Regions from separate parts of the Homo sapiens genome. Here all the other regions are linked to region 4. Evidence: promoter capture Hi-C in 16 types of primary human blood cells and fetal thymus (Javierre and others, 2016). All regions are on one chromosome and are shown on one strand. The core of a region is centred on a gene start or on the middle of the fragment in contact, and the rest is flanking DNA. Distances in the headings are between cores, read along the strand shown.

Region 1 (5,775 bases), core at 2,757-5,256, 500 kb after region 4:
CTTATCTGTAAAATGGGCCTGTCACCTGTCACAAAATGATGTTGTGAAGCCTGAGGGAACTGCGAGGCCATTGTTCAAAGTAGACTGTAAATGGAGACTCCTAGGTGCAAAAGAACTCTTTACTTAGGTTTCCTTAGATTTGTAGAAGTCAACACAAGCAGTAGGTAGTGAGTGGTTCCATGTACCATCATGCCTCAATGATATGCTCAAAGATTGTTTCCATGACAAAACTGCAGATGGAGGCCACTTATATTAGACAGTCTACATACTTTATTGAAAGTCACATGAATGAGCCCCAGGATCTCGTTTGTTTTATTATTTGGATATAGCATATGTCTTTCACACAGGCAATCTTTCTAGCCCTCTACTAATGTCCTTGGCATCAAGTGCTTCATTTCCCCCAGGAAAATGAAGGCTTTTCTTTATCGAAAACTTATCTTTAAGGTATCTTGTCCTTCGCGAAGGACATGAACAGACACTTCTCAAAAGAAGACATTTATGCAGCCAAAAAACACATGAAGAAATGCTCATCATCACTGGCCATCAGAGAAATGCAAATCAAAACCACTATGAGATATCATCTCACACCAGTTAGAATGGCAATCATTAAAAAGTCAGGAAACAACAGGTGCTGGAGAGGATGCGGAGAAATAGGAACACTTTTACACTGTTGGTTGGACTGTAAACTAGTTCAACCATTGTGGAAGTCAGTGTGGCGATTCCTCAGGGATCTAGAACTAGAAATACCATTTGACCCAGCCATCCCATTACTGGGTATATACCCAAATGAGTATAAATCATGCTGCTATAAAGACACATGCACACGTATGTTTATTGCGGCACTATTCACAATAGCAAAGACTTGGAACCAACCCAAATGTCCAACAATGATAGACTGGATTAAGAAAATGTGGCACATATACACCATGGAATACTATGCAGCCATAAAAAATGATGAGTTCATATCCTTTGTAGGGACATGGATGAAATTGGAAACCATCATTCTCAGTAAACTATCGCAAGAACAAAAAACCAAACACCGCATATTCTCACTCATAGGTGGGAATTGAACAATGAGATCACATGGACACAGGAAGGGGAATATCACACTCTGGGGACTGTGGTGGGGTCGGGGGAGGGGGGAGGGATAGCACTGGGAGATATACCTAATGCTAGATGACACATTAGTGGGTGCAGCGCACCAGCATGGCACATGTATACATATGTAACTAACCTGCACAATGTGCACATGTACCCTAAAACTTAGAGTATAATAAAAAAAAGAAAAAAAAAAGAAAAAAAAAGGTATCTTGATTCTCTCTGAAATTTTTTATTATTTCTGATGTTTTTTTCCAGGCTTGTAATGTGTCAAGGCCACTTATCTGCAGCTACCTTAGAAGTAGTATAATTGATCTATGTTCTCTCAAAAGCAATTTTTTCCTAGTCACAGAACTATTTCTTCTTTTACTACTTTATTTGTTCTAGTTATTACAGAATCAAAGAACTTCTTGAAAAGAGAATACTTTCCCATGATAACCAATTACTTTAGAAATACTCTGCATGACACTATAATTGAAATTAGATGCTAAGTTTTGTCCCTCAGTGGCTGAACACCCCCAACCTTTTAAAAAACAAAAACTTCAAAAATAAAAATTCAATATTTCTTTTTGTAAGCCATCTCTTGATTTTGCTATCACCACAGAAAAATTTGTAGAGATTTGACCCCAATACATCAAGTACTGCAGAGGCACCAAGACCTTTTCTGCTTCTAAAACTGCATTTGTGGATGTCACCAGTCTCTTAGGCTGAAACTGAAACTGCCCATGCTACAACCTTGGCGAAGTATGGAGACACCTGTGAGGACCTTTTTACTTTTTGAAAAATGGCAAGCCAAGGACTTAACAACTGCCAACTAAAACACAAATCCTTCACTTCACAAAATAAAATTAGATGATCATCTTAAAAACATTACCAAATGTGCAAGCTGAATATGAAGAGAAAGCCTAACTCAGGAATATCTTCCAGCCCAGTTTGCATTTCCATATAAACTGAACCTGCACCCCCTCCCTCCTTCAAATGTTTGCCTTTCAATATTTTGTTAGGCAGGCAAGAGTCAAGAGTCATGCCAACTCTAGTAATGTGGCCTCTGTTCAAACACCTACCACAGTGTGGCAAAGGGAAAACAGCATGGGCTAAGAGTGGCCTGGATTCAAATCACAGTCCTTTTATTTACTTTCTATGTGCCCTTGAGTTGTTTACTTTAGCCCCCTGGGCCATAATTTCTTTCTCTGTAAAATGAGAATACTTGCATGAATATGAAACACTGAGCAGTTAATAAATACGTGCTTAATAAATGTTAGGTTCTTTGTTATCCCTGCCAGTTCATCACTTTCAGTTCATCCATTGCCAGATTCTCTAACTTGCTGGCCAAGGTATGTTGATAATTTCCTATAGCTGCCACTCTTCTATTATCACCCTCTTCCCATAGCCTCTGCAAAATGACTGCCCATCCATTAAGCCTAGGGCAAGCCAGTCTCATTCCATGATAGCATGCCTCGCCACAGAAGCTTTTTGCACTTTAAGTCAGAGTGCCAAAGGCAGGCGTTGAAATTCATTCTTTGGCATTCTTAAGGTATAGACCAGAGCAAAGGCAGAGCTACTCAGCCACTGCTCCCTGGCCTCCAGGCAGACTGCTGGTCCCCAGCTCTCCAAGATAGGCCCTTGATCTGTGTCCCAGGCAACACACAGCAATCTCATGACATTTCTGGGACATATTTTCTACTGGGATCACAGCAGCTTTCTAGGGCTCTCAATAATCTTCCAATGTTTGCATCGGTGATTGTGGTATTTTCCCCCAAGAAAACCAGAGTCAAACCATGTTTCTTTAAAGGGACTGTGGCCCTATTAGCCATGCTTTCATGGCCAAAATCTGCACACCTGTCTGCTTTATTCAGGATAGAGCAGGGAGGCCACAGCCCTGAAACAAGGGCTCAAAAATCACTTCCTAGGTGAGGTCAGTAAGGCCTCACAGAGACTACTATTGGGGGCAAGCAGCAGGTGAAATGATGGTCACTTGACTCTTTTACTCCTGGTTTCTTAGCAACCTGGCCTTTGAGACTGGGTACAGTGGAGTGAGTTCAACCGGGCCACCTGGATATGCCTTGATTTAGAATGGCATCAAGTTTCCACTCAATTACTTTCAAAAAGGCTCTCAGTGTACTTGGCCTTACATGTTCCTAACTCACCAATAAACCATGTTTGGAATTCAGTCTTGAAAATGACTACTGCCTTTCAGTAGCACTGTTCCAAATGCATCTCTGAGTGGGTTTGCACATGAGTGTGCATGTACTCACTCTCTATCTCTTTATCTAGGTTTATCTGTCAGTACTATAATCAGTGCACTAACAGGGCCTTGGTAGAAGAGTGCAAGTAGGAAAGCTCTTTCCCTCACACTGGGCAACATTATAATTATACAGACGCTACAGACAAGCTACGGCCCAGGCATCTGCATAGAAACAAGTACTGATGCTCTTTCCAGCAACTTCCCTTCAACAAACAGGAATTAGAAATGTCCATTCCTCAGATTTCTGCCCCATTACACCAATTTTTAGGTCCTTTCCAATAATAGAGATAGCAAATGAAAGGGACCTGGCAAGGGTTTATGTCCTAACATTTTTCACTTGGTGGCAAATATTCAAGAAAAAGGGTAAAAGCCAACCCCCAGAAATGATGGCCACTAAAGCCACAAACCACAAGGTCCCTTGCTAGATAAGTGTGATATAATGGGGAAAAAAAACTTGCATAGGAGCCTGGGACCTGAGATCTTGTACTGGTGTGATCACTACCTTGCTCTGCCTCAGTTCCCCCGACTGGAAACTGGGCAGTTGTTAGACTAAATGATTTTGAAAAGCCCTTCCAATCAAGGGCTTATATGGATTGTAAAAAGAGTATTTTACTCAAGTGCTGTGGTTCTTGACTTTTTTGGGTCACGAGCCCATTTGAAATTTAGCAGAACATTATGGACTATCTCCCCAGAAAGGGCATATTGTCATGGAATTGTGCATACCATCTCAGGGGCATCATGGAGTTTCTGAGTCCATGGACACTGGGTTAAGAACTGCTTTTTTCAGGAGATAAAAGAGTTTATGTGCAGAAGGCAAACATGAAGCAGCAGTGACAGCTGCCTGGCCTCAATCCACCTTAACAATTTTTCTAGCATTTGACCCCAAAATAGAACTCCTACAGGACCAAACACAGTCTCCTTTTTTTAAAAAGAAATGTGTTCAGCTTTTGTTTGTTTCTTGATTGCTTGACAGGAAGCTGTCAAAAAAAAGGAGAAAGAATAATCCAAATAGACCTAGGCTTTTACATGCAAAACATGCTTTGCAGATTTGTCCTAAGTGGCTGCATGTAACAGCAGGAAGGCCACCTTCCTAAGTCCACATGGAGGTGCTGTGGGGGCATCACTCATCCCACTCATAGCCTCGCAGGAGCAGACGGGCTCTTGGCAACATACTGCAGCACCAGAGCGCTGACATGGCACCAGTGTCCATATCCTCAGTAGGAGACATGTTGAGATTCTCCAATGTTCAGCAAACATTTCTATTCCCTTCCAACCAAGGTAAGCAATGGCCCCAACTCAAGTGGCCTTCAGTTCAAGGTAAGACCCCTGAGATCAGTCTTTAGCCCCAAATCTCTCAGAGTTCAATGGCCCTCTGAGGAAGCAGGAAGTTCAGGGAAGAGTTGAAAACTGAGCTCCCCTCTTCAACTCAGGTAAGTGGATATCTTGGTTTTGGCAGAGTCTGGCTTGAGGGAGTCCAGCTCTTCACAGTGTTATAGGAACTCAAAACAGACCTTCTGAGGGGATGAAGACAGAATACAAAGGAGATATAAACACCTGTCTAGGACATATGCTCCTTATTTTATGGCCTCCCAGAGAGAGTCTGAAAGTGCAAGGCTAGGAAGGAGCTGCTCTTCAACACAAAATGACTCCGCACACAAAGGTTTGAAGAAGAAAGACTCTTTCAGAACCTGGAAAGGGTCCTCTGAGGCCAAGGCTTTTAAAACCTGAAAGAGAAAGAAGAGAGTAGGGAATTAGCGAGGACTGGTCAAGTACTTAACAGCCACTGATCAGTGGGGCTTCTCTTGGTAGGTAGCTAAGCCTATAATTGGTAGCTCATCTTCTGAGCAACAGCGGATTGCTGGGCAAAGGCTCTTACAAGTCAAATCTCATGAAACAGGCCTAAGATGGTGCTATGACCAGGGCTGGACACTTTGTGCCTTTGACCTCAACTCAAACTCCCCAAAATCTACATGGAGAAATAGAAGCCTGATACTAGAACCTCTGAGATTTCTTCCCACATCATGCCCACTGCCTTTATGGTCATACAATAACTATAAACTTCCTTTTAACAGGGACTTCACCTCCATAGGGGCTGATAAGGAGAAGCTTATCTACCCACGGACCTCTGAGGACTGGCAGTGACAGGGAAAAAAAGAAGGTTAGGGAGCACATGAAAAGCCAAGCTCCAGATACTTGGATCTCATTTATGTGTGTTATCAGGTCACATCATGCCAGCAATCTGATAGTCAAACAATCAGAACTCCTATGATAGAGAAAGGAATTTCCCTGACCTCTGAGTCTCCTGTGACCTTTGCAAGTCACTTATCCCCTCTGAACTTCAGTTCCTTTATTTGTTGAGTTAGAACACATATTATCCTCCCTTCTCCTGGCATGTGATATGCATCAAATGAAATAATGAATGTGAAAGTGCT
Region 2 (5,179 bases), core at 594-3,093, 460 kb after region 4:
GAAGATGCTAGCCAAAACACTTTGTTAGGGCAGTGGCAGCAGGTTCTGTGCTCATGTGCATATGCCATTATCCACGGTGTTGCAGCAGAGTGCAAACACATCAACTGGGACAGAGCACCAGTGGAAGCAGAACAGCAGCATCCATACACGCATTTGTACCAGTGGTGGTGGCAAAAAAAAAAAAAAAGGTTACTTTAATTAAAGATAGTAACTAATGTAGATGATTGATTGTGTTGAGTACAGTACTTGAGAGTTACATGTATGAAAACAAGAAAATAGATGTGATTTTCTATTTATTTTTTAAGTTTTAAAAAGTTATTATGGTTCATTCAAATGATAGATTAATTATGGGTATTATTTTTAATCTACCAAGAAGATAATTATATTTAAAGCTATAAAGCTTTACTTTATTACCTATTTATATACTTTTATGTCTGAATATGCCTAAATGCATTTAAAAAAGGTTTATTAAAAGAGCTTTTGCTATTATTTTTAAATAAATAATGTACCAAAAGAAGAAAAATAGAATTTGGATTTTTTCTATAAAATGTCTATGTTATTTTATGCCCAAATTAGTAGAGGTTCCTTTTTGTCATTACATGATTATATTAACTCTCAGTGCTTTTAGCATAGTCTGAAATCATTTTTTTGAGATTCCCTTAGATAGCACTGACCTAGTTTTTTGTGCTCATTTTAAAAACCGCAATGAAAGACCTAAATTCACTCTTAAAATATAAGCCATTGCCAGAAATTAAATTATCTCAGATGACTAAAATAATTACTTTTACCCTGGCCTAGAAGCTGGGAGAAATCAAAAGCAAATATTTACATAGACAGTAGATGATGGTAGATATAAATATTTATATAGATAGTAGTTCACTGATATGGTTTGGATTTGTGTCCCTGCCCCAATCTCATGTCAAATTGTAATCCCCAATGCTGGAGGAGGTCCCCAGTGTTGGAGGAGGGACCTGGTTGGAGGCGATTGGATCATGCAGGCAGATTTTCCCCTTGCTGTTCTCATGATAGTGAGTTATCACAAGATTTGGTTGTTTAAAACTGTGTAGCACCACCCCTCTTTGCTCTCTTCCTTCTTCTCCAGCCATGTAGGATGTGCCTGCTTCTCCCTCACCTTCCGCCTTGAGTGAAAGTTTCCTGAGGCCTCCCCAGCCATGCTTTCTATACAGCCTGAAGAGCCATGAGCCAATTAAACCTCTTTTCTTTATAAATTACCCAGTCTCAGGTAGTTCTTTATAGCAATGCTATAAAGAACAGTCCAATACATCCACCAATTTGGAAATCTAAAATACTTTGGAAACAAAAAAGTTTTTAACCTTGATTAAAAGCAAAAAAATAAAAATAAGACAACCAGTTGAAGTACTTTTAGGTGCTTTGTTGTTTTCAAAATAGTTATTATTAACTGTGAGAGGTAAGTCTCTGATTTAAAAAAAAGGAAATGAAAAAAGTTAAGATACTCATCACACAATATAATATTTGGCTCTCTCAGGATATCCAACTGATAGCACCAAATAATTTAAAATGAATTTAGCAAAAATGTTTCATGACATTACCTATAATAACAAAGATAAGCTGGCAACAATATTAAATTATCATTGTTGGGGAAATTTTAGAGGTGTTTCAGAGCTTGTTCCAAAATATGTCCCACCTGCCAACAACGTAATTCTGGTAAAACTGGAGAGGTGAAATATGGACAGAAAACAACCTTCTGAGGGCCTATTAAACACCTTCAAAAGGACTTTATATAAATGCCTCCTGAAATAGGTTGTTAATAGGTTCTGGTTATTACTTGTTTATTCTCTGGACATTATTTGTTTATTAAAACTTTTCCTTGCTGGAGAGCTACTATCTTATTGACCACTTCCGTTTCCCAAAATGTTTAATTTCCTTTTCCAACCTGAGATACTCTCATTTATCTCTCTAATGACAGAGATGCCCATTTTACTAGTAATGTTATTAAGAAATTCTATAAATTTGGCCGTACGCGGTGGCTCACGCCTGTAATCCCAGCACTTTGGGAGGCCGAGGTGGGAGGATCACGAGGTCTGGAGATAGAGACCACCCTGACTAACACAGTGAAACCCCGTCTCTACCAAAAATACAAAAAATATTAGCCGGACGTGCTGGCGGGTGCCTGTAGTCCCAGCTACTCAGGAGAATGGCTGAACCCGGGAGGCGGAGCTTGCAGTGAGCCGAGATCGCACCACTGCACTCCAGCCTCGGCGACAGAGCGAGACTCCATTTCAAAAAAAAAAGAAAGAAAGAAATTCTATAAATTTTTGCCTTTTACCAGAATATTCGCTATTTTATCTACAGTTTTAGAAAAAATAGAAAGGACTAATAGAATTCTAAAACTGAAATTAAAAACACTCTCAGAAACCCTTGAATTCTCATGTCCTAAAGTATTACCATTACCTTTAATATACTAACAAAATTAACCTCCTCTGGGATCCACAAGTTATCTCCTCATAAAATAATAATGGTCCACACTATGCATTTGATATTACAAGCAGATATAATTAATCACTTCAAGGGACTCATATGATACCTCCACCTTTACCATCAAGTACAAGCTACATTTTCAAAACAGTCACCTAAATAGCTTCTACATGATCTGCAGCCTTGAGAGTCAATTTCTTGGAAAAGACTACAGAAAACTGTGCCCTTGAGCCCTGATGAATATGATCTTATCAGATACTGTTAACAACTGACACAGCAATAAAACTCCAAGGTATAGATTCTTAGCTTCATCATCTTTCACAGGTCAAAAATATCTGTATTTTTTTTCTCCAGACTACTAAACATTCATTACATCTAGAAATCATAAACTGAGAATTCTTAGGAATCCCCTGGAATCTACTGACTTCAGAAATAGACAGTTTCTGCCCAGGACAATGAAAAAAGATTAATTTTCTGATTCTTCAACATTTTTCCTTTCCCTCTACTACTAATCCGTCTTATTCTTCCACTTTTGTATCCTTTAAAATACTAATGGGATCTCCCTTATCATCATCCTATTACCTCCAACCACTATGATCTCCTACCACTTAAGAGAAAGCAAAACCCACTTACATATTTTTCACAGGCTATAGCTACTGCTCTGAATCTAATACTTTGCTGGACTTGTCATTCTTTATTTTACTCTCTAGACAAAAATTTAATGGCTGTTCTTTTAAATATTTCAAAAGACAAATTGCCCTTAACAAACTCCTCCTGCTACTTATGTTTTCCTCACATCATTAATCCCAAATTTAATCTTGTAAAAATTAAAGCTTGACCTCACATGGACAAAATGCTGAGGTCATTACAATCCTATAAGCAAGACCTAGTTTGTCAGAAATAGGTGCAAATGCTGAGATTTTTAAAAATTTAATTTATTATACTTAAAGTTCTGGGATACATGTGCAGGATGTGTAGGTTTGTTACATACGTATACAGGTGCCATGGTGGTTTGCTGCACCCATCAACACATCATCTACATTAGGTATTTCCCCTAATGTTATCCCTCTTCTAGCCCCTGACAGGCCCTGGTGTGTGATGTTCCCCTCCCTGTGTCCATGTGTTCTCATTGTTCAACTCTCACCTTTGAGTGAGAACATGTGGTGTTTGGTTTTCTGTTCTTGTGTTAGTTTGCTGAGAATGATGGTTTCCAGCTTCATCCACGTCCCTGCAAAAGACATAAATTCATCCTTTTTATGGCTGCATAGTATTCCATGGTTTATATGTGCCACATTTTCTTCATCCAGTTTATCACTGATGGGCATTTGAAATGGTTCCAAATCTTTGCTATTGTGAAGAGTGCCACAGTAAACATACATGTGCATGTGTCTTTATAGTAGAATGGTTATAATCCTTTGGGAGTATACACCCAGTAATGAGATTGCTGGGTCAAATGTTATTTCTGGTTCTAGATTTTTGAGGAATTGCTACACTGTCTCCACAATGGTTGAACTAATTTACCCTCTCATCAACAGTGTAAAAGCGTTCCTATTTCTCCACATCCTCTTCATCATCTGTTTTTTCCTGACTTTTTAATTATCGCCATTCTAACTGGCTTGAGATGGTATCTCATTGTGGTTTTGATTTGCATTTCTCTAATGACAAGTGATGATGAGCTTTTTTTCATATGTTTGTTGGCTGCATAAATGTTCATTAGGAGAAGTGAACTTTTTGAGAGGTGTCTCTTTGAGAGGTGACACTTTTTGAGAAGTGTCTGTTCACATCCTTTGCCCACTTTTTGATGGGGTTGTTTGTTTTTTTTCTTGTAAATTTGTTCAAGTTCCTTGTAGATTCTGGATATTAACCCTTTGTCAGATGGATAGATTGCAAAAATTCTCTCCCATTCTGTACGTTGCCTGTTCACTCTGAAGATAGTTTCTTTTGCTATACAGAAGCTCTTTCATTTAATTAGATCCCATTTGTCAATTTTGGCTTTCGTTGCCATTGCTTTTGGTATTTTAGTCATGAAGTCTTTGACCATGCATATGTCCTGAATGATATTGCCTACGTTTCCTTCTAGGGTTTTTATGGTTAGGTTTTTATGTTTCAGTCTTTAATCCATCTTGAGTTAATTTTTGTATAAGGTATAAGGAAGGGGTCCAGTTTCAGTTTTCTGCATATTCTAGCCAGTTTTCCCAATGCCATTTATTAAATAGGGTATCCTTTCCCCATTGCTTGTTTTTGTCAGGTTTGCTGATGATCACATGGTAGTAGATGTGTGGCATTATTTCTGAGGTCTCTGTTCTGTTCTATTGGTCTATATATCTGTTTTGGTACCAAGACCATGCTGTTTTGGTTACTGTAGCCTTGTAGTATAGTTTGAAGTCAGGCAGTGTGATGTATCCAGCTTTGTTCTTTTTGCTTAGGATTGTCTTGGCTATATGGGCTCTTTTATGGTTCCATATGAAATTTAAGATAGTTTTTTCTAATTATGTGAAGAAAGTAAATGGTAACTTGATGGAAATAGCATTGAATCTATAAATTACTTTGGGCAGTATGGACATTTCCATGATATTGATTCTTCCTATTCATGAGCATAAAATGTTTTTCCATTTGTTTGTGTCCTCTCTTATTTCCTTGAACACTGGTTTGTAGTTCTCCTTGAAGAGGTCCTTCACGTCCCTTGCACGTTTTATTCGTAGGTATTTTATTCTCTTTGCAG
Region 3 (5,940 bases), core at 1,125-3,624, 470 kb after region 4:
GAGAGAGAAATTGGAGAGTTTGTTGCGGGAAGTCAGGGACCCCAAATGGAGGGACCGGCTGAAGCCATGGCAGAAGAATGTAGATTGTGAAGATTTCATGGACATTTATTAGTTCCCCAAATTAATAATTTTGTAATTTCTTATGCCTGTCTTTACTACAGTCTCTAAACATAAATTGTAAAGATTTCATGGACACTTATCACTTCCCCAATCAATACCCTTGTTATTTCCTATGCCTGTCTTTACTTTAATCTCTTAATCCTGTCAGCTGAGGAGGATGTATATTGCCTCAGGACCCTGTAATAATTGCATTAACTGCACAAATTGTACAGCATGTGTGTTTGAGCAATATGAAATGTGGGCACCTTGAAAAAAGAACAGGATAACAGCAATTGTTCAGGGAATAAGGGAGATAACCTTAAACTCTGACCGCTGGTGAGCCAGGTGGAACAGAGCCATATTTCTCTTCTTTCAAAAGCAAATGGCAGAAATATCACTGAATTCTTTTTCTCAGCATGGAACATCCCTGAGAAAGAGAATGCACACCTGGGGGTGGGTCTCTAAACTGGCCCTCCTGGGCATGGTCATCTCTTATGGTCGAGACTGCAGAGGTGAAACAGACTCCAGTCTCCCATAGTGCTCCCAGGCTTATTAGGAAGAGGAAATTCCCGCCTAATAAATTTTGGTCAGACCCGTTGATCTCAAAACCCTGTCTCCTGATAAGATGTTATCAATGACAATGGTGCCCGAAACTTCATTAGCAATTTTAATTTTGCCTCAGTCCTGTGGTCCTGTGATCTCGCCCTGCCTCCACTTGCCTTGTGATATTCTATTACCTTGTAAAGTACTTGATGTCTGACCCACACCTATTCGCACACTCCCTCCCCTTTTGAAACTCCCTAATAAAAACTTGCTGGTTTTTGTGGCTTGTGGGACATCACAGAACCTACCGACATGTGATGTCTCCCCCGGATGCCCAGCTTTAAAATTTCTCTCTTTTGTACTCTGTCCCTTTATTTCTCAAGCTGGCCAACGCTTAGGGAAAATAGAAAGAACCTACACGAATAATGGGGTAGGATCCCCGATAAGAGTTGTTGGCAAAAAAAAAGGGCTGTTTAAAGCCATGAGTGTGTAAGAAGTCCTTGGGAAGATTGTTTATAGAAGAGGTAGAAGGGGCCCAGAATTGAGCCCTGAGGAAAGTTCAATATTTTTGAAGTTACAAAGAGAAAAAGGAATCAAGCTTCAGAATCAGGAGGCAGAGCAAGATGGTAGAATAGAAGGCTCTACCGATCTTCACAACAAGAAGGACACAAATTTAACAAGTATCTACACAAAAAAAGCACCTTCATGAGAACCAAAAATCAGGTGAGCACTCATAGTATAGTACCTCGTTTTAACTTCATATCACTGAAAGAGGCACTGAAGAGACAGAAAAAAAAGGTCTTGAATTGCTGGCACCACCCCTGACAGAAGCAGCATGATGCAGAGAGCATTTCTGTGTGCCGGAGGAGAGAGAGCACAGCAATTGTGAGGCATTCAACTCAGTGCTGTCCTGTTAGAGCAGAAAGGAAAACTGGACCAAACTCAGCTGATGCCCACACGTGAAGGGAGCATTTAAAGCAACCCTAGCCAGAGGGGAATTGCCAATCCCAGTGGTCCGAACTCAAGTTCCCACAAACCTTGCCACTGAGGGTTAAAGTGCTCTAGATCTCTAAATAAACGTGAAAGGCAGTATAGGCTACAAGGACTGAAACTCTTAAGCAAGTCCTAGCGCTGAACTGGGCCCAGAGACAGTGGACTGGAGGGGGCATACTAGGACACCAGCTGGGGTTGCTAAGAAAGTGCTGGCATCAGTACAAAAATTAGGCATGGTGGTGCATGCCTGTAATCCCAGCTATTCAGGAGGCTAAGGCAGGAGAATTGCTTGAACCTGGGAGGCAGAGGATGCAGTGAGCTGAGATTGCGTGACTGCACTCCAGCCAGGGTGACAGAGGGAGACTCCAGCTAAAAAAAAAAAGAAAAGAAGAGAAAAGAAAGAAAGAAAGTGCTGGCATCACTGTCCTTTAACCCCAGGCTGCACAGCTCATGGCTCCAAAAGACTGCCCTTACTTCTGCTTGAGGAGAGGGAAGAATGGGGAGAGCTTTGTCTTGAATCAGATAGCAGCTTAGGCACAGCAGGATAGGGCACCAGTCAGAGTCCTGAAGTCCCCTTTCCAGACCCTGCCTCCCGGATGACATTTCTAGACATGCCCTCGGCCAGAAGGGAACTCACTGCCTTGAAGGGAAGAACCCAGTCCTGGCAGCATTCATCACCTGCTAACTGAAGAGCCCTTGGGCCCTGAATAACCAGCAGCACTACCCAGATACTAGGTTGAGGGCTTTGGGAGAGCCTCTGAGACTTGCTGGTTTCAGGTGAGACTCAGCACATTCTCAGCTCTGGTGACTACAGAGTGAAACTCCTTCTGCTTGAGAAAACTAGAGGGAAAAGTAAAGTGGACTTTGTCTTCCACCTTTGGTACAAACTTGGCCACAAGGGGGTAGAACATCAAACAGGTTCTTGTGGTCCCCGATTCCAGTACTTGACTCTGGCATGGCATTTCTGGACCTGTCTTGGGCCACAGGGGAGTCTACTGCCCTGAACGGTGAGTCTCAGGCCAGGCAACATTCACCACAAGCTGACTTGGGAGCCCTTGGGACTAAAGGGAGTATCAGCAGTAGTCTGGCAGTACTCCGCATGGCCATGTGGTGGCAGTGGCCGCAGGATGAGGCTCCTCTGCCTTTGCAGAGGGGAGAAAAAAGTGGGAAGAGCTGTGTCTTGTTTGAGGGCCAGCTCAGTTGCAGTACAATAGAACACCAGGTAGATTTCTAAGGTTTTTGACTCTAGCCACTGACTGCCGGACAGCACCTCTGGACCCACCTGGGGCCTTGGGAACTTCATCACCCTGAAGGGAAGAACACAGGCCCGGCTAGTTTTGCCACCTGCTGGTGATAGAGCCCCAGGACTTTGAGCAAACATAGGTGGTAGCCAGGAAGTGGTAAGAGCAGGCCTTGGACAAGACCCAGAGCTGTGCTGGCTTGAGATCTGACTTAGTGCATTCGTAGTGGTGGTGGTGACAGAGGTGCTTGTGTCACTTCAACCCCAAATTTAGAAGGCTCAGAACAGAGAGAAAGACTCCATTTGATTGGGAGAAAGTAAGGGAAGAGAACAAGAGTCTCTGCCTAGCAATCCAGATAATTGCCCCAGATTGTTTCCAAGATCATCAAGGTGGTACCTCTATGAGTCTGCAAGAACCACAGCATTACTGAGCTTGGGGTGCCCCCTAAAGTAGATACAGCTTTTATCCCAATATCCAAGTCCTTTCAAATATCTAGGAGGATTTCCCAAGTAGGATCAGACTAACAGCAGATCTCTCTGAAGAATCCTTACAAGCTAGAAGAAAGCAGGGGCCAATATTCAACATTCTTAAAGAAAATAATTTTCAACCCAGAATTTCATATCCAGCCAAACTAAGCTTCATAAGCAAAGGAGAAATAAAATCATTTACAAAAAAACAAATGCTGAGGGATTTTGTCACCACCAGGCCTGCCTTACAAGAGCTCCTGAAGGAAGCACTAAATATGGAAAAGAAAAACCAGTAGCAGCCACTGCAAAAACATACCAAAATATAAAGACCAATGACACTATGAAGAAACCGCATCAACTAATGTGCAAAATAACCAGATAGCATCATGATGACAGAATCAAATTCACACATAACAATATTAACCTTAAATGCAAATGGGCTAAATGCCCCAATTAAAAGACACAGACTGCCAAATTGGATAAAAAGTCAAGACCCATTGGTGTGCTACATTCAGGAGACCCATCTCACGTGCAAAGACACATAGGCTCAAAATAAAGGAAGGGAGGAATATTCACCCAGCAAATGGAAAGCAAATAAGAGCAGGGGTTGCAATCCTAGTCTCTGATAAAACAGACTTTAAACCAACAAAGATCAAAAAAGACAAAAACGGGCATTACATAGTGGTAAAGGGATCAATGCAACAAGAAGAGCTAACTATCCTAAATATATATGCACCCGATACAGGAGCACTCAGATTCATACAACAACTTCTTAGAGACCTACAAAGAGACTTAGACTCCCACAAAATAATAGTGGGAGACTTTAACACCTCACTGTCAATATTAGACAGATCAACGAGGCAAAAAAGTAATAAAGATATTCAGGACTTGAACTCAGCTCTGGACCAAGTGGACCTAATAAACATCTACAGAACTCTCCGCCCCAAATCAACAGAATATACATTCTTCTCAGTGCCACATCACACTTATTCTAAAATCAACCACATAATTGGAAGTAAAACACTCCTCAGCAAATGTAAAACAACTGAAATCATAACAGTCTCTTAGACCACAGTGCAATCAAATTAGAACTCAGGATTAAGAAACTCACTCAGAACCTCACAACTACGTGGAAATTAAATAACCCACTCCTGAATGACTACTGGGTAAATAACAAAATTAAGGCAGAAATAAATAAGTTATTTGAAACCAATGAGAAAAAAGAGACAATATACCAGAATCTCTGGGACACAGCTAAAACAGTGTTAAAAGGGAAATTTATAGCACTAATGTGTGTGGCCAGATTTTCTTCATTTTCTTCAAACAAAACAGTATATCCTAGCAGATTGAATGCAGAAGCAGCTACAAGAATCTGGTTATTTTCTATTAAGCCCAATAATCCAGTTTTGAAAATTCAAAGATAATAACATTTATTTTACTATCTCGTATTTTTGAAAAATATAGATATTCTCCACAAAAAATGTTTTATATGTTAACACATCATTGACCTATTATTGTTAATTGTTAATTAATTTTCAAAAAATTCTCAGTTTTAATTTGCAATTTGGTAGACATCAATAGATATAAACCACAAAAACAAAGCCTCTTTGAGGTCCTCAATCATTTTTAAGAGTTTAAAGTGGTCCTGAGACCAAAAAATTTGACAGCAGTTCCTCTACACTAACCATGTCACCTCTGGTTCTTAAGCACCAGTGGTCTACAAGCATTTAAAGCCCTTCAGAGACAGGCCTAAAGCTTCCTTTCAAGTCTCATCTCCTATCACTTCTCTCCGCGTACCCTACTTGTCAGCTACATCTGCATTAGTTAACTTGCTAATCCTTCAACCTGCCAAGCCCATCCTAACCTCTATACCTAGCCTATTTGGTCCTATAAACATCACATTGTCTCTGGAGTCTTTCTTCCTGTTTGGCAAATTTAGTTGATCTCTTCTTCTTTTTCTGCAATGCAGTCTATGAGGTTGAGTTCAGAATGGCCATTAGCTCCATTTTTTAAGTAAATAAACTGAGGTCCAGAGAAAGAAAGAGACTCAACTAATTCCCATAGCAAGTGAGCAGCAGAGCTAGTGTCTAAATTCCCAGCATTATTTTTATACTTCCACTGAAGAGACTCAGAAAGTATTGGAGACACTGTAAGAAGGGGCACTTAATTGAGCTAAAACAAAGTTCTGGATTGGAACATTCTTGAAAGAAGTAACTCTTGACTTTGCCCGGGTATAAGAGCAGCCAAGCAATCCTTGCACATATTGACAGTAGATGAAAAGCAACCCATGGGAAATATCTTTGTCCTTTTTTTGCTTCTGCAAATGGTAGAGTCTATCCCACTCCAGCCAGTCATTATTCTTAAACAGAATAGCCGAGGAGCCTTCAGGCACTCTGGAGGCCACCTGAAGAGTACTGTCCTCATTTGAAGAAGGCTGCTTGAGCTGATGTTTTTGTGACACAACTGCCCACTGCCCCCACTGCCCTCAGTTGCCTCCCTAGGCTAGGATAAAAACTCTAGGCAAGGCCTTAAGCAACATTCAGACATTGGTGGAAAAATGCAACTGCCTGTTTCAGAGCACTTTGCCTTTCCTGTAA
Region 4 (5,203 bases), core at 2,704-5,203:
AATAATATGACCAGATTAAACTTTCTAAAAAACCCTCTATGCAAATATATATTGAGAGTTAATTATTGACAAAGATTCAAAGGCAACAAAGTGGAGAGAGAATAGTATTTTCAAAAAATGGTGCCAAAACAATAGGACATCTATATTAAAAGTTGGGTATCTGTCTACAAAACTTAATTCAAAATGGATCACAGACCTAAATGTAAAACTGAAAGCTATACAACTTCTGGAAGAAAACACAGATGGGAATCTGTGTGATCTTGAGTTTGAAAATGATTTATTATATCTGACACCATAATCCGTAAGTTAACATAATTCATAAGTGAACAAAGTGATGAACTGGACTTCATCAGAATTTAAAATGTTTGTGCTTCAAAAGACACTGGTATGATAATGAAGACAAACTACAGATAAGATATTGTTGAATCATATTTCTGATAAAGGAATTGTGCTCAGAATACATAACTCTAAAACCCCCATAATAAATTACAAGTAGCCCAATTAAAAAAAAAAAAAGAGAAAAAATTTACAGTCTTCATCAAAGAAAGTATACAATTGTAAAATAAGCACATGAAAAATGCTCTGCATCTTTATTCATGGGAGAAATAAAAATTAAATGGGAAAGACACCTCTAATTAGAATACTAAAATTAAAAAGACTGACCATACCAAGTATTGGTGAAGTGGAAATGTAAAATGATACAATCACTTAGGAAGATGATTTGGAAGTTTCTTACAAAAGTAGGTGTATACCTACCCTGTGACTCACCCATTCCATGGCTAAGTATTTACCTGAGAGAAATGAAAGAATACATCCATACAAAGATGTTTATACAAATATTTATAGCAGTTTTATTTGTAGTAGCCCCAAACTGAAAAGAACCCAAATGTCCATCAAAAGTGAATGGATAAACAAAGCGTGGTACAGCAATGCAATAGAATACTACTTAGCAATAAAGAAGAATGAGCTAGTGATATACATAACAGCTTAAATGTACATCAAAGGCATTGTGCTCAGTGAAAGATGCAAGTAAAAAAAAAAAAGAGTACATGCTGTATAGTTCCATTGACATAAAACTCTGGAAAGTGAAAAACAGTCTATACTGACAGAAAGCAGATCATTGGTTGCCTGAGGAGGAGGAGTATAGGAGAGGTGGAGGGAAAATGTACAAAGTGGCACAATAAAAACTTTTGGAATCATAGATATATTCACTATCTTGATTGAGTGATGATTTCATGAGTGCACGCGTGTGTCAAAAATGATCAATTTATGCAACTTTAAATATGTGCAGTTTATTGTATATATCAATTATACCTCAGTACGGCTATTAAAAAGAAACCCTCTGGCTGCACAATGCAGAACTGATTCTAGGAAAGAGTGGAGGGAGGATGACCATTTACAGTGCTCCAGGTGGAAGAGAACGGTGCCTTCTGGAAGTGAACTAGGTTGGCAACAACAGAGATGAAATAAATGGGCAGATGTGTGAGATACTTAGGAAATAAAACCCGATGGTCACCATTTTCCAAAGGTCAGCTCATCCTGGCTTTCCAGAGCAAAGAGCTAGGGAAGACTTTATTAATAAATCCCTCTTGAAGTTGCAGAGGAAGCTTATAGCAGAAACTTACTCTCAACCTGACTAATCTGAGAGAACACCTCTGGTTCCATTTGATTACTAAAAAACTGCAAAGAACAGGAGGAGAAAGAAGAAGAAAGCTGGTACAAACAGTGAACTTATATAATATTAATCAATAATTGTCTCTTGTTCTTAAAAGCAATGGGAAGAAAATGAGATTTGAGCTGGAAGATCAGAGTTCAAAATCCAAATAAAGTATATGGCCCTAATATGCTTATAGTAGTTAACCTTTCCTGATAATGATATAATTGTTGACAGCACCATCTTTAAAAATAAAAATAACATAGTAATCCTTCAGATTTGTAGAATGCTTTCCTGTTTACAAGTTTGTTCTATACACATTATGTCTTTTAAATGACACACTAGCCTTCTGAGGGTAACTTATATTGGCAACAGTTTTCAGATGTGGAAACTGTGAAGACAATGTTGGTGATGTGGAAGCAACATAAACTTTGGAGTCTTTCAGACCCAGGTTTGAATGTCAGACTGCTTTTTATTCAGAGTAACTTCAGAGCATTATTTCTCACCTTAATTTTTTTTCAGGCCTCTTTGTGTCTATGTGTCCTCTTCACTCCTGTCCATTGTTCATTCAGTGATTTTTGCACCTTCCTTCACTGTTAGTGTGTAGACACATAGTTCTCCTGGCTCTGAGACCTATGTTAATTCCATTCTACCATCCTGCCAGCCCACTCAATTCCTATTGAGCAATGCTAGTTGAAAGTTGTGGTGGGATTAAATGTTGCAATGAGTATTCAAATGAGGTTGAAGTATCTACGCATTCTACTTACATATGGTGAGGTATATTCAAGGAAGGCTGTAGCCATTAAAATCTCAGGAAATAATTTTTCACCTCCTCAGGTGAAAGGGTCTTCAGGCCTTTGTGTTCTGGAAGGTTCATTTATAGCCATTTCCCAAATGACAATGCGATTGATGAGTCTAGAGTCTAGCTCAAATAGCAATGGACTGGAAGACTAGTTTAGGTTTTACTAATGTGGAACATAGAACAAATTATGTCCTTGTTTCAGCCTGTTCATCTGTGAAATAGAGCCTATCATATCCAGTCTTCCTTGCCTTTAGGTTTGAGTTACCTTCTTTGGTCAAGGTAAGTAAATGCCTATGATGTTTGGCTGTGCACAAGATAAAGCTACAACAAAGCTACAACCCATCTTTTCTCTGTAGAAGACTGCAAAAAGCAAAAGAGACCCAGGCAAAAATCTCGGAATGACTTTTGGAACAGAGAGCCTCCCCAGAATCAGAAGTCAAAGGAATTTAAAACATAGGGAGGCCCAGGGTCTCTACTGACATAAAGGAAAGATGTTTTCCTTATAGGTTTACGTTTACATTTTCTCTCTCTTTCCATTCCCACTTGCATCTCCACCTTTACACAGGGCTTATGGGACCTCCTCCACAAAAGAGCAGTTGCAGTAACCCACATCATCCTCTACGCCTGGCTGTCCATCAAGAGGCGAAAAGCAGCCCTATATAGGTTCTATCCTTGGATAGTTCCAGTTGTAAAGTTTAAAATATGCGAAGGCAACTTGGAAAAGCAAGCGGCTGCATACAAAGCAAACGTTTACAGAGCTCTGGACAAAATTGAGCGCCTATGTGTACATGGCAAGTGTTTTTAGTGTTTGTGTGTTTACCTGCTTGTCTGGGTGATTTTGCCTTTGAGAGTCTGGATGAGAAATGCATGGTTAAAGGCAATTCCAGACAGGAAGAAAGGCAGAGAAGAGGGTAGAAATGACCTCTGATTCTTGGGGCTGAGGGTTCCTAGAGCAAATGGCACAATGCCACGAGGCCCGATCTATCCCTATGACGGAATCTAAGGTTTCAGCAAGTATCTGCTGGCTTGGTCATGGCTTGCTCCTCAGTTTGTAGGAGACTCTCCCACTCTCCCATCTGCGCGCTCTTATCAGTCCTGAAAAGAACCCCTGGCAGCCAGGAGCAGGTATTCCTATCGTCCTTTTCCTCCCTCCCTCGCCTCCACCCTGTTGGTTTTTTAGATTGGGCTTTGGAACCAAATTTGGTGAGTGCTGGCCTCCAGGAAATCTGGAGCCCTGGCGCCTAAACCTTGGTTTAGGAAAGCAGGAGCTATTCAGGAAGCAGGGGTCCTCCAGGGCTAGAGCTAGCCTCTCCTGCCCTCGCCCACGCTGCGCCAGCACTTGTTTCTCCAAAGCCACTAGGCAGGCGTTAGCGCGCGGTGAGGGGAGGGGAGAAAAGGAAAGGGGAGGGGAGGGAAAAGGAGGTGGGAAGGCAAGGAGGCCGGCCCGGTGGGGGCGGGACCCGACTCGCAAACTGTTGCATTTGCTCTCCACCTCCCAGCGCCCCCTCCGAGATCCCGGGGAGCCAGCTTGCTGGGAGAGCGGGACGGTCCGGAGCAAGCCCAGAGGCAGAGGAGGCGACAGAGGGAAAAAGGGCCGAGCTAGCCGCTCCAGTGCTGTACAGGAGCCGAAGGGACGCACCACGCCAGCCCCAGCCCGGCTCCAGCGACAGCCAACGCCTCTTGCAGCGCGGCGGCTTCGAAGCCGCCGCCCGGAGCTGCCCTTTCCTCTTCGGTGAAGTTTTTAAAAGCTGCTAAAGACTCGGAGGAAGCAAGGAAAGTGCCTGGTAGGACTGACGGCTGCCTTTGTCCTCCTCCTCTCCACCCCGCCTCCCCCCACCCTGCCTTCCCCCCCTCCCCCGTCTTCTCTCCCGCAGCTGCCTCAGTCGGCTACTCTCAGCCAACCCCCCTCACCACCCTTCTCCCCACCCGCCCCCCCGCCCCCGTCGGCCCAGCGCTGCCAGCCCGAGTTTGCAGAGAGGTAACTCCCTTTGGCTGCGAGCGGGCGAGCTAGCTGCACATTGCAAAGAAGGCTCTTAGGAGCCAGGCGACTGGGGAGCGGCTTCAGCACTGCAGCCACGACCCGCCTGGTTAGGCTGCACGCGGAGAGAACCCTCTGTTTTCCCCCACTCTCTCTCCACCTCCTCCTGCCTTCCCCACCCCGAGTGCGGAGCCAGAGATCAAAAGATGAAAAGGCAGTCAGGTCTTCAGTAGCCAAAAAACAAAACAAACAAAAACAAAAAAGCCGAAATAAAAGAAAAAGATAATAACTCAGTTCTTATTTGCACCTACTTCAGTGGACACTGAATTTGGAAGGTGGAGGATTTTGTTTTTTTCTTTTAAGATCTGGGCATCTTTTGAATCTACCCTTCAAGTATTAAGAGACAGACTGTGAGCCTAGCAGGGCAGATCTTGTCCACCGTGTGTCTTCTTCTGCACGAGACTTTGAGGCTGTCAGAGCGCTTTTTGCGTGGTTGCTCCCGCAAGTTTCCTTCTCTGGAGCTTCCCGCAGGTGGGCAGCTAGCTGCAGCGACTACCGCATCATCACAGCCTGTTGAACTCTTCTGAGCAAGAGAAGGGGAGGCGGGGTAAGGGAAGTAGGTGGAAGATTCAGCCAAGCTCAAGGATGGAAGTGCAGTTAGGGCTGGGAAGGGTCTACCCTCGGCCGCCGTCCAAGACCTACCGAGGAGCTTTCCAGAATCTGTTCCAGAGCGTGCGCGAAGTGATCCAGAACCCGGGCCCCAGGCACC
Region 5 (5,759 bases), core at 2,130-4,629, 440 kb after region 4:
ATGGCACCTCTTTCAGGAAGAACACCCATTTTATTTTTGTTTTCTCATTGTAATGTTAACTCCTTGCATACCTTTCAAACTGGCACACTCTCACCAAGAAAAATTGGGAATGATGGTGGCCACATTGGGGAGCTTTGATATGGACAAACTGTTTTTTAAAAGATGCCTTAAAACAAAAGAAAACAAAATTCTGTTTATAGTCTGCTCTGATTAACTGGTGTGAAGAGGCTTCTAAATGCAAATCAAACTAAAAAATTGCTTCCCTAAAATGTTCTTTAGTAAAACAAATGCAAAACATAAGAAACTGTCTCCTTAATCAGCACTTTCAGACAATACTTAAGATTAGCTTCTGATATTGACATACTCAATGTCCTTTCCACATTTTCATTGATTATTGAAAGTCTGAAATTGTAGATATGAGATGTAAGCAAAAACTGATTCAGAGGTTGCCCCAATATATGAACTCCAACTTTTGGCTGAACATTTTAAAGATAATGTAGATACTGGAAGATAGAAAGAACAAAACCTCATTAAAAAAAAGTGTTACCTAAAAGAGAGATTATTTGGTTTAATGTGAAAAACATCCCCTTCTTTGTTGTTTTCATACTTTGAGGTTTAATAAGTACAGGCTTTTTTATTATACAACTTGATAAAATTGTCAAGGACCCAAATTATATCAAAATGTGTATGATACTCTCTCTTTTATGCATATGCATCAAAGTATCTTTTATTGCATCTAAATTTTCTTCTCTTTCCTTACAGAAGGCAAATAATTAGCTATTTCTTCAAAGCTGGCTCCCTCTCATTTTTCTATACTATTTTCTCTTTTTCCCCTCCCTTATAGGGCTTGAAAGATTAACTGATTTAAAAATCATTCAGTTGCTAGGTGCATAGAGTAGAAATATTTAGTTTAGATAGTCAAAGTTGTTGAAAGAAAGAAAAGTAGATTGAACTATGCTTTTCATGTGTATTTATATGATAGCTTTTATAACTATAGCTATGACATCATAAGAAAATACTTCAATTTCAAGATAAAATTTTATATGACTTCATCAATAATTGAATTACAAAAAAAGTTACCATAATATTTTGGTTTGTTTAGGACAAAGGTTAAATTATTCAAATTTTGTAATAGCCCAGATTTAGTTTTGAGTTAAATTAGTTCTCAGTGTTTCTACAGTTTTTTTAAATTAAAAATTCTATTTTTAAAATTATGTTTACCAGACTACCTACAGGCTTTTCTGTGTCCCAGAACTTCTCGCTTGTAGAAAGTATCTTTCAGCAAAGGCACAGACACAGTGCTGGGCTCAGTGGGGAAGTCTGTGGTTCTGTCTCAGCAGTTGAGCAACCCAAGTGCTTATGAAGGGACTTGGAGAAAGTGACTTCTTCTCCCCCTTGCCCACCACTGCAGACACAGCTAGGGCTTCTCCCACAGGACCTCAGCCCAGGTGCACCTGTAGACAACTTTTTTGGAGCACTTCAGGATGACTGCATCCCCATGGGAGGCATAACCCCTGGGTTCACGCCTGCAAGAGAGATGTAGTTCCACTCTTTATGTACATAGAATGTTGGCATTATTTCAGATGGACAGATATATCTCTCTAATCTAATATCTGGAACAATAGGACAGGGGCATGATGGGGGAGGTGGAATGCTTTCCTTCCAGCTTGGTAGTGGAGCTGAGGGGGCTCCCTCCCTTCCTTCTGTGAAAACTGCAGCACATTTCACTAGGAGCTCCCCCAGCTACCTCTGTAAGGGCTGGGACTTTTGCCCACCATTGGGGTATTGAATATACCCATCTGCTTCAGCTACAGCCAGTTCTTACTTGTGAACACCTCCTACTTGCCTGAAGACTGAATTGTTTAATCTAGTGGAAAAAAATACTGGGGAGGAAAAAGTGCACACAATTGGGGAGTGAGACCTCTGCCATTCTGACCCCACAAGAGACAGTGAATCTGCTGTCACACCCAGTACATCACTACTACAAGCAGCATCTGACAAAGCCATTGCACAAAAATTCTCTATAACCAAGGAATTTATGCAGACTTCCACTGAAAGAACCCAGAGTCTAACCTAGGTGATCATAAACTATATATATTAATGTCACATCTTCTTCAATGGGAAAACACCCCAGCTGAAAAAAATGATTTCAAAAATAACAAGAAATAGTCTATGTAGGTGAGAAGGAAGCAGAAAAATAATTCTGGTAATATGAAAAAACAAAGCTTTACAATACCCCTGGAAGATCACATAAATTCTCTAGTGATGAATTCAAACCAGAATGAAATCTTTGAAATTCAAGACAAAGAATTCAAAAGATTGATTATAAAATTGCTCAGGGAGATCCAACAGATAGCTGAAAACCAATATAAAGAGATCAAAAAAATGGCCAGGCGTAGTGGTTCATGCCTGGAATCCCATTGCTTTGGGAGGCCAAGGTGGGAGGATCATTGGAGCCTCCAAAATAAATTTTAGAAAAATTAAAAAATTCAGAGTATGAATAAAATTTTTTCCAAAGAGATCGATTTAAAAAAAAAATAGAAATTCTGGAAATTAAAGACTGTTTTAGGGAATTACAAAATGCAGGGGAAAATTTTAACAATAGTCTAGACAAAATAAAGGAAAGAATTTCAGAGCTTGAAGACAAGTTCTTTGAATTAACCAAATAAGACAAAAATAAAAACAATAAAATAAATGAACAAAGTCTCTGAGAAATATGGGATTCTGTAAACCATCCAAACCTAAGAATCATAGATGTTCCTGAGGGAGAAGAAAAAGCCAAAATTTGAAAAACCTATTTGAGGGAATAATTGAGAAAAACTTCACTGGTCTTGCTGGAGATTTAGACATCCACATACAAACAGCTCAGAGAACTGCTGGCAGATTCATTGTAAAAAGAATCTTTACATTGAAAAAAGAATCTTTACATTGTAAAAAGAACCTTTACATTGTAAAAAGAGTCTTTGGTGGCTTAAACATCATCAAAGCATATAGTTATCAGGCTATCTAAAGTCAATGTAAAGGAATGAATTCTAAAAGCAGTGAGACAAAAGCAACAAATAACTTATAAAGAAAAACCTAGCAGACAAATAGAAGACTTCTCAGCAGAAATCTTACAAGCCAGAAAAGATTGGGGGCTTATCTTCAGTCTCTTCAAACAGAAAACCTGTCAGCCAAGAATTTTGTATTTTGCAAAACTAAGTGTCACAAATGAAGAAGAAATAAAGTCTTTCCCAGACAAAAAAAAAAAAGAAAAGAAAAAGTTGATGGAATTTGCCACCACTAAACCAAACCTACAAGAAATAATCAAAGGAGCTCTAAATATGAAAATGAAAGATTGATACACACCAATATAAAAAATGACAGGGCTTAGAAAACAGTAACACAATGGGAAAAGCAAAGGACATACATAATAGCAAACTTGATGACTGTAACAGTACCTCACATATAAAGATTAACTTTGAATGTAAATGGTATAAATGCCCCAATTAAAAGATATAGATTGATAGAATGGATTAAAAACCATAATTCAAATAGCTGCTGACTTCAAGAGAACCACTTAACTCATAGAGATTCTTACAGACCCAAGGTAAAGGAGTGGAAAAAAATATTCCATACACATGAAATCAAAATTAAGCAGAAGTATCTATTAGACAAAACAGATTTCAAATTTTAAAAAAAGACAAAGAAGGTCATTATATAATGATAAGTAAATAAATTCAACAAGAAGATATAACAATCCTAAGTATACATAAACCTAACACCAGAGTTCCAGATTTACAGGACAAATACTGCTAGACCTAAGAAAAGAGATAGATAGCAAAACAATAATAGTGGGGGACTTCAAGACTCCACTGACAACACTGGATGGATTATTGAAGCAGAAAATTAACGAATAAAAAAATGCTGGACTTAAACTTGACTCTAGTGAGGGAAGAGAGAGACACTCTCATATTGTTTTATATTGTTTTATACTGTTTTATACTCAATGCTTGTTTTAAGAAAAAAACAAGGAAGTGAAATCAAAGACAGGCAGCCCGGCGCCAGGCCCAAAACTGGATCTGGGCCTGCCTGGCCTAAACCTAGTAGTTAAAAATCAACTCATGACTTAGAAACCGATGTTATTCATAGATTCCAGATATTGTATAGAAGAACATTGTGAAACTCCCTGCCCTGTTCTGTTTCTCTCTGACCACCGGTGCATGCAGCCCCTGTCATGTACCCCTTGCTTGCTCAAATTAATCACGACCCTTTCATGAGAAATCTTTAGTGTTGCGAGCCCTTAAAAGGGACCGAAATTGTGCATTTGGAGAGCTCGGATTTTAAGGCAGTAGCTTGCCAATGCTCCTAGCTGAATAAAGCCCTTCCTTCTACAGCTCGGTGTCTGAGATGTTTTGTCTGCAGCTCGTCCTACTACACTAGAACAAATGGACCTAACAAACATTTATATAACATTCTATCAAAAAAATTGCAGAACATACATGTCACAGACGTCCATGTGAAGAGACCACCAAAGAGGCTTTGTGTCAGCAATAAAGCTTTTTAATCACCTGGGTGCAGGCAGGCTGTGTTCGAAAAAGGAGTCAGCGAAGGGAGATAGGGGTGGGGCCGTTTTATAGGATTTGGGTAGGTAGTGGAAAATTACACTCAAAGGGGGTTGTTCTCTTGTGGGCAGGGGCAGGGGTCACAAGGTGCTCAGTTGGGGAGCTTCTGAGCCAGGAGAAGGAATTTCACAATGTTAATCAATCAGTTAAGGTGGGGCAGGAACAAATTACAATGGTGGAGTGTCATCAGTTAAGGCAGGAAATGGCTATTTTCACTTCTTTTGTGATCCTTCAGTTGCTTCAGGCCATCTGGATGTATACCTGCAAGTCACAGGCGATATGATGGCTTAGCTTGGGCTCAGAGGCCTGACAATACATTCTTCTTCTCATCATCACATAGAACATTTTCCAAGATACGTCATATGATAGGTCATAAAACTAGTCTCAATAAATTTTTTAAAAATGATATCAAGTACTTTCTCAGACCACAGCAGAATAAAATTAGAAATCAATTCCAAGAGGAACTCTCAAAACTATACAAATATACAAAAATTAAACAATCTGCTCTTGAATTATCTTTGGGTCAGTGATGAAATCAAGATGAAAATTTAAACGTTTTTCAAAATCAATGATAACAGCAACATGAGTTATCAATATATTGGGGATACAGCAAAAGCACTGATAAAAGCAAAGTTCATTGTACTAAGTACCTATGTCAAAAAGACACAAAGGCTACAATTTGACAACCTAACATCACATCTCATGGAAATAGAAAATAACAAAACAAACCCAAAGTGAGCAGAAGAAAATAAATAATACCAGAGCAGGACTAAATTGAATTGAAACAAAAAAATTACAAAAAACCAACTTTTTAAAGTTTGTGTTTTGAAAAGATAAACAAAATTGATACACTACTAGCTAGATTAGCCAAGCAGAGGAGAGAAAATTCAAATAAGCTCCACTAGAAAGGAAAATGGAGACATTACAATCAATACCACAGAAATACAAAAGATCATCCAAGACTTCTATGAATACAAATTAGGGAATCTAGAGAAAATTGATAAATTCCTGGAAACACACTCCCAGGCTTGAATCAGGAGGAAATTGAAATCCTGAGCTAAACAAGAAGTAGTGAGATTGAATTAGTAATTAAAAATATTCCCACAAATAAATGCCAAGTATCAGATAGATTCACAGCCAAATTCTACCAGACAA

What was found. Contacts are between HindIII fragments. The CHiCAGO score rates a contact against its expected background, and 5 or more counts as called.
Region 1: a contact is called between a fragment that was not itself captured here and the fragment with the promoter of AR in region 4, in 1 of 17 cell types (M0 macrophages). The highest score is 5.1, in M0 macrophages.
Region 2: a contact is called between a fragment that was not itself captured here and the fragment with the promoter of AR in region 4, in 1 of 17 cell types (M2 macrophages). The highest score is 5.3, in M2 macrophages.
Region 3: a contact is called between a fragment that was not itself captured here and the fragment with the promoter of AR in region 4, in 1 of 17 cell types (M0 macrophages). The highest score is 5.1, in M0 macrophages.
Region 5: a fragment that was not itself captured here is called in contact with the fragment with the promoter of AR in region 4 in 2 of 17 cell types (M0 macrophages and M2 macrophages); the score reaches 5.2 in M0 macrophages.

Annotation. Positions count from the first base shown.
Region 1 is chrX:68,042,097-68,047,871 of GRCh38, forward strand. It overlaps OPHN1 (oligophrenin 1), which reads right to left. Exons shown (of 25, transcript NM_002547.3): 25 at 248-5,067. Among named protein-coding and RNA genes, the nearest start is that of NXTAR, 260 kb to the left of the region's middle. The HindIII fragment of the contact is 2,882 bases long and covers 2,566-5,447 here.
Region 2 is chrX:68,000,311-68,005,489 of GRCh38, forward strand. No RefSeq gene overlaps it. Among named protein-coding and RNA genes, the nearest start is that of NXTAR, 220 kb to the left of the region's middle. The HindIII fragment of the contact is 2,890 bases long and covers 399-3,288 here.
Region 3 is chrX:68,016,032-68,021,971 of GRCh38, forward strand. No RefSeq gene overlaps it. Among named protein-coding and RNA genes, the nearest start is that of NXTAR, 230 kb to the left of the region's middle. The HindIII fragment of the contact is 2,272 bases long and covers 1,239-3,510 here.
Region 4 is chrX:67,540,068-67,545,270 of GRCh38, forward strand. AR (androgen receptor) reads left to right here and starts at 3,954. Exons shown (of 8, transcript NM_000044.6): 1 at 3,954-5,203. The coding sequence starts at 5,080. The HindIII fragment of the contact is 7,103 bases long and covers 1,606-5,203 here.
Region 5 is chrX:67,980,852-67,986,610 of GRCh38, forward strand. No RefSeq gene overlaps it. Among named protein-coding and RNA genes, the nearest start is that of NXTAR, 200 kb to the left of the region's middle. The HindIII fragment of the contact is 2,313 bases long and covers 2,224-4,536 here.